Linked DNA regions of Homo sapiens: regions 2 and 3 are each linked to region 1. The links are contacts of gene promoters, found by promoter capture Hi-C in human tissues and cell types (Jung and others, 2019). All regions are on one chromosome and are shown on one strand. Each heading gives the region's core, a stretch centred on a gene start or on the middle of the fragment in contact. The rest is flanking DNA. Distances are from core to core; before and after follow the strand shown.

The links. Contacts are between HindIII fragments. The study calls those that stand out against the background at their distance.
Region 2: the fragment with the promoter of AGPAT3 here is called in contact with the fragment with the promoter of UBE2G2 in region 1 in 3 of the 25 tissues and cell types used here (dorsolateral prefrontal cortex, liver and lymphoblastoid cells).
Region 3: the fragment with the promoter of AIRE here is called in contact with the fragment with the promoter of UBE2G2 in region 1 in 3 of the 25 tissues and cell types used here (IMR-90 fibroblasts, hippocampus and mesendoderm cells).

Annotation. Positions count from the first base shown.
Region 1 is chr21:44,800,068-44,803,246 of GRCh38, forward strand. It overlaps UBE2G2 (ubiquitin conjugating enzyme E2 G2), which reads right to left and starts at 1,753. Exons shown (of 6, transcript NM_003343.6): 1 at 1,639-1,753. The coding sequence starts at 1,681. LINC01424 (long intergenic non-protein coding RNA 1424) reads left to right here and starts at 2,174. Exons shown (of 2, transcript NR_109928.1): 1 at 2,174-2,569. RefSeq lists an enhancer at 979-1,934 and silencers at 1,482-1,541, 1,602-1,821, 2,322-2,371. The HindIII fragment of the contact is 9,913 bases long and covers 1-3,179 here.
Region 2 is chr21:43,863,689-43,866,867 of GRCh38, forward strand. AGPAT3 (1-acylglycerol-3-phosphate O-acyltransferase 3) reads left to right here and starts at 1,535. Exons shown (of 10, transcript NM_020132.5): 1 at 1,535-1,657. RefSeq lists silencers at 594-953, 1,504-1,853, 1,974-2,293. The HindIII fragment of the contact is 11,781 bases long and covers 1-3,179 here.
Region 3 is chr21:44,284,090-44,287,268 of GRCh38, forward strand. AIRE (autoimmune regulator) reads left to right here and starts at 1,787. Exons shown (of 14, transcript NM_000383.4): 1 at 1,787-2,049; 2 at 2,468-2,642; 3 at 2,889-3,044. The coding sequence starts at 1,918. RefSeq lists enhancers at 1-60, 61-664, 665-1,266. The HindIII fragment of the contact is 44,459 bases long and covers 1-3,179 here.

The sequences.
Region 1 (3,179 bases), core at 503-3,002:
TAACATCAAAGATTACTGATCATAGATCACAGTAATAGATTAAAATGTAAGAGAGAGACACGAAGCGAGCAAAAATGGTGCCAACAGACTTGCTTCCATGCAGGGTTGCTTGTAAAAAACTTGTAAACTTGTAAAAAATGCAAGATCTGCGAAGTGAAGCTCAATAAAGCAAAGCGCGCGGGAAACTGAGGTGTGCCTTTATGTTCTGCTTTAGCAGACACTAGGTGGCGAGCGTTATTTGAACGTTTACAGGAGGCCCTGTGTATCTGCGGCTGCATATCCATGGATTCGACCAACCAGGAATACAAAATATTTGAAAAAAATAACAATAAAAAATGACGATTTAAAAATACAAGTAAAAAAAATCAGTGTAACTATTTGTGCAGCACTTACATTGCATTAGGTACTATAAGTAACCTTGAGATGATTTAAAAGTTATGAGAGGCTATGCATACATTAAATGCAAATACCACGCCACCTTATAGTAGGGACTTGAGCATCCGAGGATTCTGGTATCTGCAGCGGGGCCTGGAACCAATCCCCTCCAGATACCAAGGGAAGAATGACCATACGTGAGTGAGCCTGTATTTGCAACGTTTTGGTCTGCTTAAGCCAAACATCAACTCTTACTGGGCGGTGTCACCAATAGTTTTACGAAATCAAGCTACATGTATATTCACCACTTATTTTTTTTCTCACATTCATTCTTTTAGCTTAACTTTCTTCCAAAATTATCCTCAATCTAATTACAAAAGCAGCAGCTAACTTTATTAAGGGTTACACATCAGGTATTTTGCTAAGCACTTCACCTGCAGTATCAAGTTTAACCTTTTAAGACAAGGAAACTGCAGAGACAGAGAGAGGAACAAGGTCAAAGAGCTAACAAGCAGAGAGGCCGGGTCTGAACTCAGGCCCTGCTCTTAGCCGGCTACTATCTCGTCTCCATCGGCGACTCAGGCTCCTGGCGCTTTCAACACAATGGTATTCCAAGACTTCTCGCAGCAGTTCTTCCAAGCGGGCATTCGGTGTAAAACGATGGAATGCCGAGTGTTCCTAGGTTCTCATTTCTCCCTTCGCTCTCCTCAGACATTAGAAATATCTAATTTACCGGGTAGGAAAGCACTCAAGAGGTTTCCTCAACACTACCTAGGAGGAGTGACAGGTGGCACTGTTCAAAAACCCTTTTCCTTCATTAGAGGGAAAGCCAAAATCTGACCTTTCAAAGCTCCACCAACGAGCCTTTCCCCTTTTAACGCATACACTTTTCCCTCCTAATTCCGCAGCAGCAAGTCAGGCCTTCTTCCTCAAGCTCTCACTGCACGTTCTCAAGGCTGCCAAGAAAAGAAAAAATAGAAGAGAAAAAAACAAGCCCGCAAAGACTCAACTGTGTGTGCTCTCAACTAACACGGCGCCGGCGCTGCCTTTACTGATGCTGGGAAGGCTTCTCTTCACGACTTCACGCGTGAGAGTGGGCAGCGGGCGCAGGGCGCGGCACTCCGCGGGACCCACAGGGGGGCTCACGGTGGAGGCCCCGGGCCCGGCTCCCCCGCCAGGCTCCCTGCCCCAGCCCCGCCGGACGACGCGGGCCCGGGAGCAGGAACGCGGGACGCTGCTGACGGCCCGGGTCCCCAGACTCACGTTTGTACTCGGCCATCAGCCTCTTGAGCGCGGTCCCCGCCATGGCCCCGCAACAGCTGCGCCGAGCGACCTCGCCTCAGCCGCGCGCGTGCCTCCTGCCCCGACACCGGGGACTGCTTCCGGGCCACCGTCGCGGGCCCAGGAACTCTTCCGGGGCGTGGCGCGTGCGCGATCGCCGAGGCGCGCTGTCCGGGTGGTGGGAGCTCAACCCGCGACCGCGGCTACGATTCTCTTGGCTCCTGCCCTCGCCTTAGTCGCTCTGCGGGGTTGGTTCGGTCCCGGCACTTCCAGAGGCCTCAGGGTCCTGGTCTTGTAGAGACTTCCTGAACGGTGGCGCCTGTTCCAGTGTGTGTGCGCTAACTGCCTGTTCTGTGCCAGCCGCGCGTGGCCGAAGGGCGGGAGGACGGGGGTTGTGGAGGGGAGGATGGAGGTTGGGGAGACAGGGCGGGGACGAGATAAGAGGTCGGGGGGTGGGGAGGATGGTCGCGGGGCGGTCTGGGGCTGGAGACAAGGGGCCTGAGGTGCGGGTACGCACTGAACATTCCAACCGTCCCCAGCCGGCCGGGTTTCAGGTTTGAAAAGGTGGGAAGGTTAGCTGTCCTGGCGCTTTTCCTCCACGTGTTGTGCGGCTCCGCTGGAGTTCGGGTCCAGCACCTTCTACTCCGAGGGAGAGAGCCGCGGGGAGAGCCCTGTTCGGGCCCGCGGCTCGAACTGACCGCCGGCTCTGCCGAGCAGCCTCGACCCCAGGGCACCCCCGGGAGAGAGGGCGCGGCTCAGGTCCCTGCCCGAACCCCTGGGGTGCTGAGAGACTCCCCAGCGCCCCGCGTGGGCTCCCGGCCTCTCCACAGTTGAGGATCCTGTAAGGGGCGAGCCCTTTTTCCCATAATGGCTGTAGTGAGTGGGTGTGCTTTCCCGATTGACCCGCTGTGAGGTGAGCGATTTTAACCCACATCCTTACTGACTTCACAGCACAGTAGGTGCTTCGTGGCTGTCCGGTGCAAGGATGTATATACACACACACCTTTGCAAAAAAAGTTTGCATCTCTTGCCTGGCTGTTTGTTGCAATAATCTATCATTTGTCTTTTCCTTTCCAGCATTGCAGATGATCCCTTGAAAAGAAGTCTGATCACATTCACACTCTGCTCCGCCCATTTCACTCAGTAAAGCTGAAGTCCTGCAGTGCTTTGCTCTGCCTCCGGTCACCCCGCCATACTCCCAGACCCTCCCTCCCTCTCACTCCACTCCAGCTGCCCTGGCCTGGTTCAGAGTCCCTGACTCTTCCCTCCCCGGAAACACTTTCTGGCGGCTCTTGTCCCCGACTCTTCCCACCTGCTCTTTCAGTCTTTGCTCAAATGTTGCCTCTTCAGTGTGGCCTAGGCCGTCACCACCCGGCCTTCACCGCATACCTTTTTCTCTGCAACACCTACTCAACACACCGTACTATAGAACTTACTGGCATGCTATAAATGTATTACCCTTATCTGTTGCCTCTAACCAAAAGCGTGTTCCATGAGAGCCATGGGTCCCTGCCTACTTCTGT
Region 2 (3,179 bases), core at 285-2,784, 940 kb before region 1:
ATTCCACGAGCTTTGCAAATCTTAACTCCTTTTTCAAGAATAAGGGAACTGTGAGTAGGACAGGTGCACGGTACTTTCATTTTATTTTAGTCTAAGTATTTTCTGAAATAATTTGAGGAGGCTTAAAGGGAGGTGCAAGCTGGGTGCGGGGGCTCATACTTGTAATCCCAGCACTTTGAGAGGAGGAGGTGGGAGAATACTTGAGCTCAGGAGTTCGAGATCAGCCTGGGCAACACCGTGAGGCCCCATTTCTACAAAAAAAATTTTTTTTAAATTAGCCAGACATGGTGGTGTGTGCCTGTGGTCCCAGCTACTTGGGAGGCTGAGGTGGGAGGATCACTTGAGCCCTGGAGTTCAAGGCTTCAGCGAGCTATGATTGTACCACTGCACTCCAGGGTGGGCGACAGAGCAAGACCCTGTCTCAATAATAATAAAAATAAAAAAAAAAAAAAGGAAAAAAAGGGGCACAGTAGACAGTACCAGTACTTGGTATTTTAAATGGTTTTCAAATGAAGCCCACCCAAGCTCAGCAAGTCCAGCCGGGGCCTGAGGACCTGAGCAGGCGCCAGGTCACACAAGGTACCGGGCGCAGGAGGCGGAGCCCGCAGCGGGCCCTGCCCTGACAGCGGCACCTGCGCGGCCTCCGCAGGTTCTGGGATCGGCCGCTGGCCAGGTGCAAGGGAGGGGGGACGGCAGCCGCTGTCCTGGGGCTGAGAGGGCTCCGCGGTCTGGAGGGGACGGCGTCAGCGCCCGCGGGGGTTCGCAGGGCAGCCCCGGGGCGACCCCCACCCCCGCCACGGTCAAGTGTCGATACAGTGTTGCCAGCCGGGTGCCAACTATGAATAAGTCCAAGGGCGCGGCACGTGGGCCGAAACGCGATCCTTCCGCGGAGCCGCTGCGCGCAGGGCCGTCCCCACCGAGCCCGCCGCGCGGCGACCCCTGACGGCGACCCTAAGCCCCGGCCGACCAGGGCAGGAGCTCGCGCGCGAAACTTCCCCGGCGCCCGCAGGAGACCCCGGCAGGGGAGATGGCGGGGCCCAGGCAGAGCTCGGAGGCCCCTCCCGGCCCCACCCCGCGCCCCGGCCCCCTCTGCCCCCGACCCGGTCCGGGGGAGCCCTCGCGGGACCCCAGCCTGGTCCTTCGCCGCCTCCCCCCGTTCAGCCCCGACCCCCCTGATCCCCGCGCCCCCCGCGGTCCCGGCCCGCCCCCTCCCCCAGCCCGGGCCCCAGCCCCGTCCGTTAGCGGATCCCACGCAGGCTCCGCGCCCGGCCCCGCCGGCGCCCTCGGCCCACACCTCTCTCCGCGCGCGTGTCCCGCCGTGTCGCCCCCGTGTCCCCTCCGCGTCCCCCCCCGCGCCGTCCCCCCGCGTCCCCCCCCGCGTCCTTCCCCCGTGTCCCCCCAGCGTGTCCCTCGGCCGCCCCGCGCGCGCCGGCGGAACTGTGGGATCGCCGCGCACAGGAAGTGGCGGCGGCGGCGCGGCCGAGGGCGGAGGGCGGAGGGCGGCGGGATGGGGGCCGGGGGCGGCGGGCGCCGCACTCGCTGAGGCCCCGACGCAGGGCCGGGCCGGGCCCAGGGCCGAGGAGCGCGGCGGCCAGAGCGGGGCCGCGGAGGCGACGCCGGGGACGCCCGCGCGACGAGCAGGTGGCGGCGGCTGCAGGTGAGCACCGAGGCCCCCACCCGAGGTCGGGCCGCCCCCCTCTTCCCCCACGCCCCGCCGCCGCCCGAGGTCGCCCTCCCGCCGCCGGAGGTCGCCCCTGCCCCAGCCGTCCGACCTCGGGCCGCCCGGGGCCCCGCGCCGCAATGGGCCGGCCGCGCTCCGCGGGGCGCGGGGCCTGGGAAGGCGCGGGGCCGGGAGGAGGTCTGGGCCCGGGTCCTGTGCGCCCCCCGCAACCCCGGCCTCCCCGGCGGCCTGGTCCAGCGCGAGGCCCCGGCCGCTTCCCGCAGCAGCCTCGGTGGCGCTGGGCCCAGCGGGGAGGCCCGGGGGTTCGGGGCGCCCGGGAGGGGCCCGGGCCGGGCCGAGGGAGGGCGAGTGGGTTCCCGCGGGGACGTCCCATCCCTCCGTCCTGGACTCTGCTCCGGGCCCCGCTCGGCTCCCCCGTGGACAGGACGCGCCCGCCGCCTGGTTTCGGGGCGCGGCGGACCCGGGACCCCCCCCAGGGGCCTCCTCCTCGCGCGCCCAGGCCAAGGGAGCAGTTTCACTTTTGCCGCTCCGCGCGGGGAGGGCTGCGGGGCCCGGGGTTGGCTGTGGGTTCGGCCCGGAGACCGGCGGCGCGTTTGCACCGGGCGGGTCAGGGGATGGGGTCAGTCCGGGGGCAAGAGCCGTGGGGGCGAAAACCCACTCCTGGCCACCCCAGGACCCTTGGAACATTGGTCCCAAGTACTTAGGAAAGGAGGGTTATTAGTATTTGAAGGCAGTTAAAAATGGTGCAGTGTTTTTTTTTTTTTTTTTAACTTTGAGAGAAGTTTAGTGACATGGGGAAAATGCTTTTATAAATGGCTTCCCAGACCTTTAAAAAAAAAAAAGCACAATTTTAAAAGCTTTGTCTAGGAGAATACTTGAGCAGTTGGGTTCTTTTTCCTGGGAAACATGATCTTAGTAGAAGAAAGATGTGGGCTGTTGGCCTCCAGACAGAGGGTGATGAGCATGCGGCTCTTATTAAAAATGAAAGCCAACGCCGAGAGCCTGCTGGGGGCTGGGAGGTGGGGCGGGCGGCGGGCCCAGGCTGCTAGAGGGACCCAGGATCCTGCAGCTTTTAAATTGCAGGCGCGGCTGCTCCGACTCGACTCGCTTAGGAATTGCTGAACTTCGTCTTCTCAGTTTGAAAGCTTCAGAGGGGTCTCCCGAGGATGCTGAGCACTCTCTTGATTTGGCCACTTCTTTGCCGCCCCCCCTCCCTCTTTCCAACCAATCCTCCTCCCCCACAGAGTTCGGCGTTAGCCTGTGCCTGTTACAACTCGCTTCTTGTATCCATTTCTGGTTAGTCTTAAGTATCTTCTTGAGGACATTGTCTAAAAAGCAGCTGCATGCCATTGACATTCAGACAGAACAGGGCCCCTTGGCCTTAGAAGGTGTAGGGGCCTTAAATATTCTGAAGGTGACTTCATGGAGTGGCCGCCCTCTGTGGTCACCCTACCTGTGCGTGGCCCTGTCCTGGCGTATCTGCCAGGGGGACGCGCTG
Region 3 (3,179 bases), core at 537-3,036, 520 kb before region 1:
AGGAAACCCAGCGAGCAGCAGCCCGGCCTGGCTGGGGACAGGATGTGTCTGTTGGAGCGGGGACCGGCAAGGCAGGCATGCAGGCAGGGGGCTTCCCTCTCGGGGTCTTCGGAAGGCGCAGTGCAGGGAGTGAGAGACGCCCAGGCCTGGGCAGCGAGAGGGCCCTGCTCCCCGCTCAAGGCTCCCAGGACATTCCACACAGGAGCCAGCCTGTTCCAACCCTGCACTGCCTGATACTCCACAGCCACCACTGAGATGGACCCCCTCCCCCTCAGCTCCCCATGACGTCCCCAGCACCTGACCCCAGGCTGACCACCTCGGCCACCACCTCTGGCCCCACCTTCCTCCCCAGGTTTGTTCCCAAACACCCCTAGAGTCTTTTCCGGAGCAATCTCAGACGTGCAGAACGCTCAGGGGGACCCTGGGCCTGAAGGCGGTAGGAGAAACCGAGACCGACCCCTGGTCTAGAGGAGAGGTGTCTGCCGCTCTCCATCCTGGACTCTGGCTGCCCAAAAGCAAACGGCACGCCTGCCCACGTGGGAATCTTGGTGGCGTCTCTCACTGCATCAGTTAGCCCCCAGCCCAGTGCTGCCTGGATTCAGGCTTCCTGGTACCTTCGTCCACCCTTCAGCCCTAATCCATGCTGGCCAGGTCATCTCGTTCTCTGGCTCAGTGGGAACACTCGTGCCCAGAGACCTCTCGTGGTTCTCTGCAGCCTGCACACAGGGCCTGCTTCCCTGGCTTGACCGCACAGACAAGGGGACTGTTACCAAGGCCTCCCACTGAGGCCACCCCCCCTCCAGGCCATGCCTGCGGGGCCACCACAGCCTCAGCATCATTGCAGGCCCCAGGCCTCTGCACCTGGTCTTGTTTTACTGGGGGCACTGTCCCCACTCACGTCCACCTGGGACCCTCGGCTCCTGTCCACTGCAGCTCCCCTCCCGGACACCTTCCCAGATGCCCCCGGAAGCTCCTGTCCAGGCCACAGCATCCCTCAGCCTCTGTCACTGGTCCTAGGAAGACCCTTTGGGAGCTCTCACTCAGGGCCACACTCAGGACCCCCGTTGTGGGGCTGGCCGCCTTCCTTCTAAAGCACCTGGAGGAAGGAAGGAGGGGGTCAATGCGAGCCTCAATCCCCAGGCGAGTGTGCCCCTTTTAAAGATGAGGGAACCGAGGCTCAGAGAAGGAAAGGACTTGCCTGGCGTCACACAGCTAGCCTAAGATGGTGAGGTCAGGAGCTCCCTGGCAACACCCAGGCTGCCGTACCGTCTCCTGCATCAGACTGAGCCTCCATCGGGCTCCTCCCACAGCCCCAGGCGGGCCCCTGAGTAGGGGCTCTCAGCTTGTGTGGAGGTCCCCCAGGAACACCACCCCGATCCAGCCTCCATGGAGGCTCTTGCCGGCCACTGGGAGGGGCCGGTGCACCCTGGGCAGCCCCTGCCAGGGCCCTGAGACCCGAGCCTCCCCGCCGAGGGCACCTGTCTCGGCTTTGCCCCATTCGAGCAGGGCCCTCGCCGAGGCAGGACAGGGCCACATTCGGAAGTGAGAGTTCTCTGAGTCCCGCACAGAGCGAGTCTCTGTCCCCAGCCCCCAAGGCAGCTGCCCTGGTGGGTGAGTCAGGCCAGGCCCGGAGACTTCCCGAGAGCGAGGGAGGGACAGCAGCGCCTCCATCACAGGGAAGTGTCCCTGCGGGAGGCCCTGGCCCTGATTGGGCGCCGGGGCGGAGCGGCCTTTGCTCTTTGCGTGGTCGCGGGGGTATAACAGCGGCGCGCGTGGCTCGCAGACCGGGGAGACGGGCGGGCGCACAGCCGGCGCGGAGGCCCCACAGCCCCGCCGGGACCCGAGGCCAAGCGAGGGGCTGCCAGTGTCCCGGGACCCACCGCGTCCGCCCCAGCCCCGGGTCCCCGCGCCCACCCCATGGCGACGGACGCGGCGCTACGCCGGCTTCTGAGGCTGCACCGCACGGAGATCGCGGTGGCCGTGGACAGCGCCTTCCCACTGCTGCACGCGCTGGCTGACCACGACGTGGTCCCCGAGGACAAGTTTCAGGTGGGCTCCCCGCCCGCCCCCCGCTGCCCCCAGGCCCTGTGAGCCAGGGATAGTCCCCGGGGAAGTTCCAGGAGGACCCCGCCCCTCCAGATCCCCAAGCCCCTCCAGCCTTCCCCAACTCCCTCCCCACAAGGAGCCAGGGGCGTCCCTGATGACAAGTTAGAAGTTGGTCCCCTTCCCCCAGCCGTCCCCACACCTCACCCCCAAGCCAAGGGAATGGCCTCCAGGTTCCCCCAGCCCCACCCTCAACACCCCTACACCACCACCTGACTCCACCACAAGCCGAGGAGATGGGCGTGGAGCTGTCCAGGTCGCCAGCGCCTCTGCCTGGGAGCTCCACCCTCTAGTCATGATGGAGATGGGCAGGCCGCAGGGTGTGGGGGACCATGGCAGGGACCCTCATGCCACCCCACTGCAGGAGACGCTTCATCTGAAGGAAAAGGAGGGCTGCCCCCAGGCCTTCCACGCCCTCCTGTCCTGGCTGCTGACCCAGGACTCCACAGCCATCCTGGACTTCTGGAGGGTGCTGTTCAAGGACTACAACCTGGAGCGCTATGGCCGGCTGCAGCCCATCCTGGACAGCTTCCCCAAAGGTGGGTCCTGGTGGACTCAGCCATGCTGGGGGCCTGGGGCAGCTGCTGTCACCTGCTCAGCCCAGCTGGACTGGAACCGGAGTGGTGTTTGAGGAGCCCGTGGGTGATGTTCCAGGACCGTCTTGGATCCTAAGAGGCAAAGGGGCCAGGCCTCACCTGTCTGGCCAAGGTGTCCAGTTCTGGGGCCCACCCTACCCCTGGAGAAAACCCTGAGGTTGGGACCCTGCTCCTGCCCCTGAGCTGCAGATGTGGACCTCAGCCAGCCCCGGAAGGGGAGGAAGCCCCCGGCCGTCCCCAAGGCTTTGGTACCGCCACCCAGACTCCCCACCAAGAGGAAGGCCTCAGAAGAGGCTCGAGCTGCCGCGCCAGCAGCCCTGACTCCAAGGGGCACCGCCAGCCCAGGTACCCTCCCTGCAGGGGAAGCCAGCCAGGGTCTCCAGTCTTCCCGGGCTTCCCCGGGAGCCCACGCCCCCTCCCCACCCGGGCTCCCACCCACTGGGTGTGGGGCCAGCCTGCCTGGGGCTGTGGGGGTCTCCT